Linked DNA regions of Homo sapiens: regions 2 and 3 are each linked to region 1. Evidence: promoter capture Hi-C in 16 types of primary human blood cells and fetal thymus (Javierre and others, 2016). All regions are on one chromosome and are shown on one strand. The core of a region is centred on a gene start or on the middle of the fragment in contact, and the rest is flanking DNA. Distances in the headings are between cores, read along the strand shown. Region 1 holds the start of CHRM4 (cholinergic receptor muscarinic 4). Region 2 overlaps AMBRA1 (autophagy and beclin 1 regulator 1). Region 3 overlaps AMBRA1 (autophagy and beclin 1 regulator 1).

What was found. Contacts are between HindIII fragments. The CHiCAGO score rates a contact against its expected background, and 5 or more counts as called.
Region 2: a fragment that was not itself captured here is called in contact with the fragment with the promoter of CHRM4 in region 1 in 1 of 17 cell types (megakaryocytes); the score reaches 5.3 in megakaryocytes.
Region 3: a fragment that was not itself captured here is called in contact with the fragment with the promoter of CHRM4 in region 1 in 5 of 17 cell types (endothelial precursors, megakaryocytes, M1 macrophages and 2 more); the score reaches 9.4 in endothelial precursors.

Annotation. Positions count from the first base shown.
Region 1 is chr11:46,390,318-46,393,642 of GRCh38, forward strand. CHRM4 (cholinergic receptor muscarinic 4) reads right to left here and starts at 1,459. Exons shown (of 2, transcript NM_000741.5): 1 at 1,214-1,459. RefSeq lists enhancers at 1-351, 352-955, 2,473-3,247 and silencers at 1,500-1,589, 1,770-1,819. The HindIII fragment of the contact is 9,198 bases long and covers 1-2,575 here.
Region 2 is chr11:46,566,985-46,570,309 of GRCh38, forward strand. The region is part of intron 1 of AMBRA1 (autophagy and beclin 1 regulator 1); the gene reads right to left. Among named protein-coding and RNA genes, the nearest start is that of AMBRA1, 25 kb to the right of the region's middle. The HindIII fragment of the contact is 3,778 bases long and covers 1-3,325 here.
Region 3 is chr11:46,549,869-46,553,193 of GRCh38, forward strand. The region is part of intron 1 of AMBRA1 (autophagy and beclin 1 regulator 1); the gene reads right to left. Among named protein-coding and RNA genes, the nearest start is that of AMBRA1, 42 kb to the right of the region's middle. The HindIII fragment of the contact is 5,972 bases long and covers 1-3,325 here.

The DNA of each region.
Region 1 (3,325 bases), core at 209-2,708:
TAAAGATGTGGCAGAGTCCTAGCCTCTGACTGACATCTGTCGAGGGGCCTCTGCGAGAGTCGCCCAACCTGGCCTTGAGGGACACCAGGCACGCTCAGCTCTAATAACTCCCCTAAGAGGCGTTATTGCCAAAAGCCGCCCATTCTCGCGGCGAGAGGGCATCCGCAGTGCACCCACAAGGCGGAGGCCCGGACAGAGCTCGGGTCAGGCGAGTGCAAGACTCTTGTCCTCCTTCTCTCCTCACCCTGCACCCTACCCCAGAGGCACTGTCTAGCCCCTGTGACCAAAGTGGGGACCCAGTTTCTCACGCTAGGGTCGGGCGGGCCTCGAGGGCCGTGTTTTCCTAGGCCATCTGGAGGCTCCTCCATGTCTCCGCCGTGGTCGAAGGAGCCCTGGCTCTCGGGTGCCCCGCCCTCCCTCCAAGCCCCTAGCACGCAGTTCCTGCAGCCTCTGGGCGTGGGCACTGTGTTTCCCGAGTCCTCGACACCCCTCTTCCCCGGGCGAGACCGGAGGGGGTGCTCCGCACGCCCGTGGGGTGGTTTGGGGTGTAGGTCTTCGGTTCTTGGGCATTCACTCCATGGCTCTGGGAAGGCTGTGGCCCCTGGATCTGTCCCTGGGGCGGGAGAGGAGACTCCAGAGTCCAAGGGAGGGAGAGGCGAAGATTTGGCACCGACATTGTGCCCAACACTTCCGTTGCGGGGCCGGAGGAGGGGGCCTGGAGCTGGAGGACCCCGGCTTGGAGGCTGGGCAGCAAAGGGGGGTAGTACCGGAGCGGGGGAGGGGTGTCGGGGAGGGCAGGGGTGTTTTCCGTCGGGGCTCAAGGTCGTAGATGGAGGACTCCAGGGGCCGGAGTGGGCTGGCAGCGCGGGGGCAAAGGGGTGGAGGGAGAGGGAGGGCGGGGAGACGGCGGGAAAAGGGCTCTTTGGGGCTTCAGCGCCCGGCGCCCTGCTGAGCCGCCAGTGGGAGGGCTGGAGTACAGGGTCCCACCCCCGACGGCTGCCCCTGGCTCCGTGGGGTCTGTGGGCGGGCAATCCCCCGCCCCCGACATCCTGGATGCCCACCCCTTCCCACGGGCGCACCCGGGCGCACCTGGAGAAGCCTCCGAGAGCCCCCGGCCTTGCTTCCAGCGGGGTCCCCCAGCCCCGGCCCACTGCCGCTCCCGGCCCGCGCTCGCCCCGGAGGGGGTCTGGCGCCCTGTCCCAGTCGAACCCACCTCTGGGGAGCCTCAGAGCGTCCCGGGGACCTGCTTCCTGCTCTTCCCGGCGAGCCCCCCGCCCCCGCGCCGCCGCGGAGCCACTTACCCGCCGCCTCTGCCCAGCTCCCCTCGCGCCAGACAGACGGCGGGACGGACGCGCGGCCCCGCGGGCCGGCGGGGCGGGCGGCCGGGCCGAGGGCCGGGGGCGGGGACGGGGTGTCGAGGGGCGGCCCCTGCTCCGCCCGCAGCTCCCGGCGCTGTGGCTCCGACTCGCGCTCACGCTCGCACTTTTCCCCGAGCCGCGTGATGTCACGAGGAAGCAGCCAATCGTGGCGGGGCCGCGCCGCCCGCCCCGGGCCGGTCACCCGGCGGCGACGCGCGGGGGTCAACACCCGAGGCGTCGGAGACCCCGGCGGTCCGCGCCCCTCTCGGGGGCTGGCCGGCAGCTCCCTGCTTGGGCACAGAGGGCGCCGCCCACGGCCAGCGACGCAGGGGAGCAGGGGGCGCTGCCCTCCGGGGGGTGGGGGTGTCCGCGTTGTCATGGGGACGCGGCGCCCCCTCGCGGGCTGGGGAAGGAGCTGGCAGCTGGGTCCGGCCGCGCTCCCGCCTCCGCCCTGACCATACTCCCGGGACCCTGAGCTATTTTCGCGCCTCTCCGGGACCTCAGCGCCCTGCGTGGCCCCGCTGGCGGTTTGGCCGCGAGGCGCGGGAGTCTGACCCCAGCGGGAGGCTGCGGGTGGGTGGGGCGGGCTGCGCCGCCAGGGATCCGTCGGGGTCGAGGGCCGGGAGCTCCAGCCGCGCCGCTGCGTGCCGGCCGGGCCGCCCGCGAGGAGGGGCGCCGTCGGGGCCTGGGGAAGCGCAGGAGCGGGTGGACTGGAGAGGTTCGGCCGGGGAGAGAAGAGCCCACCGCGGACCACTCGCCCGCACCCGCTCGGCTGCCTGCTCAGCGTTCCGGGCCGGGGAAGGGGCGCGCCCCTGCTCTCCCAGCCCTGGGATGGGACGCGCCGCCAGTCCAGGCGCAGCCTGGACCGCCAGTTCACCGCCGCCTGTGAGGGACAGTCGGTTGCCCAAGGTCGCCGGGGCCGGAGCCCGGGACAAGATCCCGGAGAGCGGGCAGCCAATCTCAGAGGTCGCTGGGAACCGCACGGGCCGTAGCCTCAGGACTCCGGGCCTCGCCCAGGCTGGGCGGACCTTGGGGCGGCTTCAGCACCTCGGAGAGCTCCCCGCGCCCTGGCCCAGCAGCCTCGCCTGCCTGATTCCGCTCCAGCGCTTGTCTCCCTCCGAGAGCGCCCTTCCGGGGGACCGCCGGGGTCGGACGCTCCCCACTGCGCCCAGGACCGAGGCCTGTAACCCCAAATTCTGATCGCAAACATTTGATTAAGCTTAAGACGTCTGATTTCTTCTCTCGGGGAAACAACTCAAGACCCTCCCCCGAGGGCCGGAGGTGGTGAGGGCGATTGCGGGGGCGGCGGTGGAGGAGAGGCAGGAGCCTCTTGGCAGAGAATGGGAGGGAACTCGAGTAGAAGCCAGCGCTGCGGGGCTCTTGGTGTGGGGTTCTCCGCGCGGAACCCGGAAGTGGAGTTCGGGTCCCCAGAGCTCGCGAGCGCGACGGCTGGGGTTGGTCGGAATTGGGAACTTCAGGGCTGGGGTTGGTTGGCTAGAGTAGGAAGCCATCTTCTGTTGTTACATGAATGATCGGGTCTCCCAAGACCTCATAACTGGGGGTGAAAGAAGCACTACTCTTCTTGCCCCACTTCACAAATAAGGAAAGTTGGTTCATAAGACCCTAAGACGGCACTCCTGCACTTCTTCCACTTTGCCATATCCTTCCCAGGGCACAGAAGAGTGTGATACTCCTAAGAGGAGGTGGGGGTTGTGGAGGAGGAAGGCAGATAGATCCTTAAAACAGTCAGATGAGAAAACAAGCAAGGCCAAGGGCGGGAGGCTGCATACACAAGACACGCCTCCAGCTACTGACCCCAGCTCTTCCAGAAGCTGGCAGGCAAAGTCACTTTAATTTCTCCACAATCCCTGTTATGAAGGGCTTTTGACCTCTCTCAATCTCCCAACCCCAAGAACCCACGGTGGAACCCTGGAGAGCTGAATTGGGAACAAGGGGACTTGGTGGTT
Region 2 (3,325 bases), core at 309-2,808, 180 kb after region 1:
TGGCATGGGCAACAGAGTGAGCCCTGTCTCAAGAAAATAAATAAAATTAAAATAAATAAAAATGTAAGCATATTAAGTAGTGTTTGTTTGTTTGTTTGTTTGTTTGAGACAGAGTCTTGCTCTGTAGCCCAGACTGGAGTGCAGTGGTCCCATCTCGACTTACTGCAGCCTCCGCTTTCCGGATTCAAGCTATTCTCATGCCTCAGCCTCCCGAGCAGCTGGAATTACAGGTGCACACCACAACACCCAGTTAATTTTTGTATTTTTAGTAGAAACGTGGTTTCACCATTTTGGCCAGACTGGTCTCGAACTCCTGACCTCTGGAGATCCACCCACCTCAGCCTCCCAAAGTGCTGGGATTACAGGCATGAGCCACCAAGCACGGCCTTATTTATTTTTTGAGACAGAGTCTTGCTCTGTCTCCCAGGTGGGAGTGCAGTGGCGCCATCTTGGCTCAATGCATTCTCCACCACCCGAGTTCAAGCAGTCCTCTGGCTCAACCTTTCAAATAGCTGGGAGTACATGCAGGCACCACCACATTAATTTTCATATTTTTAGTAGAGATGGGGTTTCGCCATGTTGGCCAAGCCGGTCTCGAACTCCTGGCCTCAAGTGATTCGCCCGCCTCAGCCTCCCAAAGTGCTGGGATTACAGGCGTGAGCCACCGTGCCCAGCCTTTTAAGATGTCTTTTCAGACTTTTGCACTTCTGATGACAAGATGACCCCACCCCAACCAGCGATTCCTCTGTAGCCCCTAGCCAGAAGCAGACTCAGTACATAAGGACCATTTCACATGTGCCTATGATTGCAACCCCAAACCAATCAGCAGCACCCATTCCCTAGCCTGCCGTGTGCCAAACTATACTTGAAAAACCTAGCTGGGGCTGGGCGCGGTGGCTCACACCTGTAATCCCAGCATTTGAGAGGCCGAGGCAGGCGGATCACTTGACATCAGGGGTCTGAAACCAGCCTGGCCAACCTGGTGAAACCCCATCTCTACTAAAAATACAAAAATTACCCAGGTGTGGTGGCACATGCCTGTAATTCCAGATACTTGGCAGGCTGAGGCACAAGAATCACTTGAGCCCTGGAGGTGGAGGTTGCAGTAAGCTGAGATCCTGCCGCTGCACTCCAGCCTGGGAGACAGAGTGAGACTCTGTCTTAAAAAAATAAAATAAAATAAAATCCAGCTGGATGCCGCAGTGGCACACACCTGTAATCCCAGCACTCTGGGTGGCCGAGGCAGGAAGATCTCCTGAGGTCAAGAGTGCAAGACCAGCCTGGCCAACGTGGTGAAACCCCGTCTCTACTAAAAATACAAAAATTAGCCGGGAGTGGTGGCAGGCGCCTGTAATTCCAGCTACTCAGAAGGCTGAGGGAGAAGAATTGCTTGAACCCAGGAGGCAGAGGTTGCAGTGAGCTGAGATCATGCCATTGCACTCCAGCTTGGGTGACAAGAGAGAAACTCAAAAACAAAAAACAAAAAACAAAAAACAAAAAAAAAGTGGCCAGGTGCAACAGCTCATGCCTGTAATCCCACCACTTTGGGAGGCCAAGGTGGGTGGATCACCTGAGGTCAGGAGTTTGAGACCAGCCTGACCAACAGAGACACCCCATCTCTACTAAAAAGATATAAAATAAGCCGGGCGTGGTGGCACATGCCTGTAATCCCAGCTACTCAGGAGGCTGAGGCAAGAGAATCGCTTCAACCTGGGAGGCAGAGATTGCAGTGAGCCGAGACCTCACCATTGCACTCCAGCTTGGGCAACAAGAGCAAAACTCCATCTCAAAAAAAAAAAAAGGAACCCTCAACCCTACCTTTTTTTTTTTTTTTTTTTTTTTGAGACAGTCTTGTTCTGTTGCCCAGGCTGGAGAGCAGTGGCGCCATCTCAGCTCACTGCAACCTCCGCCTCCCAGGTTCAATCGATTCTCCTGCCTCAGTCTCCCAAGTTGCTGAGACTACAGGCATGTGCGACCAAGACCAGCTAATTTTTGTATTTTTAGTAGAGACAGGGTTTTGCCATGTTGGCCAGGCTGGTCTTGAACTCTTAACCTCAGGCGATCCACCTGCCTTGGCCTCCCAAAGTGCTAGGATTATAGTTGTGAGCCACCATGCCCAGCCGACCCTACCTTCTTGAGATAACCTTATAAACTCATACTTCATACAAACATGTATGCATATAATAGGTTTTGCTTCCTGAATCAAAATGGGATTATATATACCACACTCTAGCCTGGGCGACAAGAGGGAATCTCAAAAAAAAAAAAAAAAAAAGTAACCCTCCAACCCTACCCTCTTGAGATAACCTTATAAACTCATAGTTCATACAAACATGTATGCATATAATAGTTTTTGTTTCCTGTACCAAAATGGGATCATATATAACACACATTACCCTGCAGCCTACCTTTTTCACCTATTATCACTATATCACTGAGAGATTAAAAAAAAAAAAATATATATATATATATATATATATAAAGTGCCAAGCAAGATGGCAGGTACAGAATACTTTCTGACTGGGGCAAACCTAGCAGATGTTTACCATGCTAATGTAGGATAGCTGAGTTAGCCATATTCAGTGAGAGTAGAGTCTGTGTACTATAGAAATAGCATTCCAAAGAGATCTGCAAAAATGCAAGGTCTGCCTGAGCATAGTGGCTCATGGATATTTGTAATCCCGGCACTTTGGGAGGCTAAGGTGGGTGTATCACTTGAGGTCAGCAGTTCGAGACCAGCCTGGCCAACATGGCTAGTCATGTTGAGAAATGACCAGCCAACATGGCTGGTCATGAGAGAAATCCCATCTCTACTAAAAATACAAAATTAGCCAGGTGTGTTGGTATGCACAGGTAATCCCAGCTACTCAGGAGGCTGAGGCAGGAGAATCACTTGAACCCAGAAGGCGGAGGTTGCAGTGAGCCAAGATCGCACCACTGCACTCCAGCCTGGGTGACAGAGTGAGACTTCGTCTCAAAATAAATAAATAATAAAGGCCAGGCACGGTGGCTCACGCCTGTAATCCCAGCACTTTGGGAGGCCAAAGCAGGGGATCACCTGAGGTCAGGAGTTCAAGACCAGCCTGGCCAACATGGTGAAATCCTGTCGCTACTAAAAATATAAAAAAATAGCTGGGCATGGTGGTGCATGCCTGTAATCCCAGCTACTTGGGAGGCTGAGGCAGAAGAATCGCTTGAACCTGGGAGCCAGAGGTTGCAGTGAGCAGAGATCGCACCATTGAACTCCAGCCTGGGCAACACAGTGAGACCATGTCTCAAAAAAAAAAAAAAAAAAAAAAAAAAAGCAAGGTCTTCTGCAGCTACT
Region 3 (3,325 bases), core at 415-2,914, 160 kb after region 1:
AGTGCAACAGCGCAATCTCGGCTCACTGCAACCTCTGCCTCCTGGGTTCATGCAATTCTCCTGCCTCAGCCTCCGGAGTAGCTGGGATTACAGGCACCTGCCACCACACCCAGCTAATTTTTGTATTTTTAGTAAAGACCAGGTTTTGCCATGTTGGCCAGGCTGGTCTTGAACTCCTGACCTCAGGTGATCCACCCGCCTCAGCCTCCCAAAGTGCTGGGATTACAGGTGTGAGCTACTGCACCCAGCCGACACTAGCTTTTCTAAAAGATCAGGAGAGTTGACTTGTTAGAATGCCTTACATCCTAGACTCAACTGATTGTTTCCTCATAGTAGCATTTAGCTTGCCTCTCTATACCTTTATTTCCTGTAAACAGCAGGTTAGGTCTAAAACCTTCATTAGTTTAAATGTTTTTGGTGACAGTGCGTCACAGTTGATGTGCCTATATACCTCAAGGTGGAGTACATCAGGTGGCACATATTTTCAGACTGTACCATCATTAGTGATCATTTGTAGAAAGATGATTACTTGGTTGAGGTTGTTAAGAGCCAGACCTCTCTTTATAAAGGAATATCTCCCCCTTTACAATTAGCAATCTGTGGCAATTATTTGGCATCATGTAAATATCCTATTACTTCTCAACTTTTTACTTAATGGGTTAGCATTCATTGATGATTCTCTCTTGTACTTTTTTAATGGGGGGAGATGCTGAAAATATTCATTTTCTAATTCTATCATTATTTCTACATGTATTAGCTGGCTTTCTTGTACAAATAATAAATTTCCCTTAAAAATTGGTGCAGAGTAGTTACTACTTCTGTCTTATTGCTTACAATAGCAAAAACTGAGGATAACCAAGTGTCCATCTAAAGGGTACTGGATGACTAATCTATGGCAAGGAAGATTCTCTGGCTACTGATAAGAACAGATGTCCAGGCCAGGCGCAGTGGCTCACGCCTGTAATCCCAGCACTTTGGGAGGCCGAGACGGGCGGATCGCGAGGTCAGGAGATCGAGACCATCCTGGCTAACACAGTGAAACCGCGTCTCTACTAAAAATACAAAAAAAAAAAAAAAAAATAGCCAGACGTGGTGGCAGGAGACTGTAGTCCCAGCTACTCAGGAGGCTGAGGCAGGAGAATGGCATGAACCCGAGAGGCAGAGCTTGCAGTGAGCCAAGATCGCGCCACTGCACTCCAGCCTGGGCGACGGAGTGAGACTCCGCCTCAAAAAAAAAAAAAAAAAAAGAATAGATGTCCAAAATATATTGTCGAGAGAAAAAAAGCAAGGTACAAAACAATATATCGAGTAAAGCTACCTTTGAATAAGAAGAAAAACTAATGGTAACACGCTGGGGACTGGAGGGACTAGATAAATGGAAACAAAAATGGATTAATACCTGTCAGTGTTTTTGAAATGGAATTTTAGTTAGTTTGTGGGGACTTTATTTTTATTTTTTAAAGAAACAGGGTATCACTCTATCACCCAGGCTGGAGTGCGATGGTGCAATCATGGCTCACTGCAGCCTCAAAGTGCTGGGCTCAAGCAATCCTCCTGCCTCAGCCTCCAGAGTAGCTAACTTTTAAAATTATTTTAAAGATGGGGTCTCGCTATGTTGCCCAGGCTGGTGCAAACCACTGCACTAGGTGCTGAAATTTTAGTTTTTGAAAAAGGTAAATCTGTTATCTTTATCAAAAATTTTCTTTAAAATATTAAACGACACCAGGCGCGATGGCTCACGCCTGTAATCCCAGAACTTTGGGAGGCCAAGGTGGGCGGATCACCTGAGGTCAGGAGTTTGAGACCAGCCTGGCCAACATGGCAAAACCTACTCTACTAAAAATACAAAATTTACTCTACTAAAAAGACAAAAATTAGGCCAGGTGCAGTGGCTCATGCCTGTAATCTCAGCACTTTGGGAGGCCAAGGCAGACGGATCACCTGAGGTCAGGAGTTCGAGACCAGCCTGGTCAACATGGTGAAACCCCATCTCTACTAAAAATACAAAAATTAGCCAGGCGTGGTGGCAGGCACCAGTAATCCCAGCTACTTGGGAGGCTGAGGCTGGAGAATCGCTTGAACCCAGGAGGCGGAGGTTGTAGTGAGCCAAGATCGCACCACTGCACTCCGGCCTGGGTGACAGAGTGAAACTCCATCTCCAAAAAAAAATTAACCAATTAATTAATCAAAAAAATAAATTAAATTAAATATTAAATGAGGCCAGGCATGGTGGCTCACGCCTATAATCCCAGCACTTTGGAAGGCCGAGGCAGGCAGATCACTTGAGGTCAGGAATTCGGTATTAGCCTGGCCAACATGGCGAAACCCCATCTCTACTGAAAATACAAAAATTAGCCGGGCGTGGTGGTGCACACCTGTAATCCCAGCTACTTGGGAGGCTGAGGCACGAGAATTGCTTGAACCCAGGAGGCTGAGGCTGTAGTGAGCCAAGATGGCACCACTGCACTCCAGCTTGAGTGACAGAGTGAGACTCCATCTCAAAAAAAAAAAAAAAAAAAAAAAAAAAAAAAAAAAAAGGCCAGGCACGGTAGCTCACACCTGTAATCCCAGCACTTTGGGAGGCTGAGGTGGGTGGTAACAAGTTCAAGAGATCGAGACCATCCTGGCCAACATGGTGAAACCCCGTCTCTACTAAAAATACAAAAGTTAGCTAGGCGTGATGGTACGCGCCTGTAATCCCAGCTACTCAGGGGGCTGAGGCGGGAGAATCACTTGAACCCGGGAGGCGGAGGTTGCAGTGAGCCGTGCCATTGCACTCCAGCCTGGGCAACAGAGCGAGATTCTGTCTCAAAAAAAAAAAAAAAAAATTAAATTATGCGGTAAGTACATGTTAAGTGAAAAAAGAACACAAAATTCTATATGCAGTATTAATCCCAACTTTGTTTAAAAAATATTAGGAGAAAAAGGATACAAAAGAAATACAATAAATACTAACCATGGTTGTCTCTCAGTAGTGGCATTATTGGTGATTTAATAATTTTAATAGGCAAGTTTCTATTTTTTTTTCACTTTTTAATTTTAAAAATTATTATTACCAGAAGCCCAAACCTCATCACTCACTTTTTTTCTTTTTTGAGACAGAGTCTCGCTCCGTCACCCAGGCTGCAGTGCAGTGGGGCGATCTCGGCTCACTGCAACCTCTGCCTCCTGGGTTCAGGTAATTCTGTTTCAGCCTCCCGAGTAGCTGGGACTACAGGCGCCTGCCACCACACCCGGCTAATTTTTGTATTTTTAGTAGAGATAGGGTTTCACCATATTGGTCAGGCTGGTCTCGAACTCCTGACCTCAGGTGATCCACCCGCCT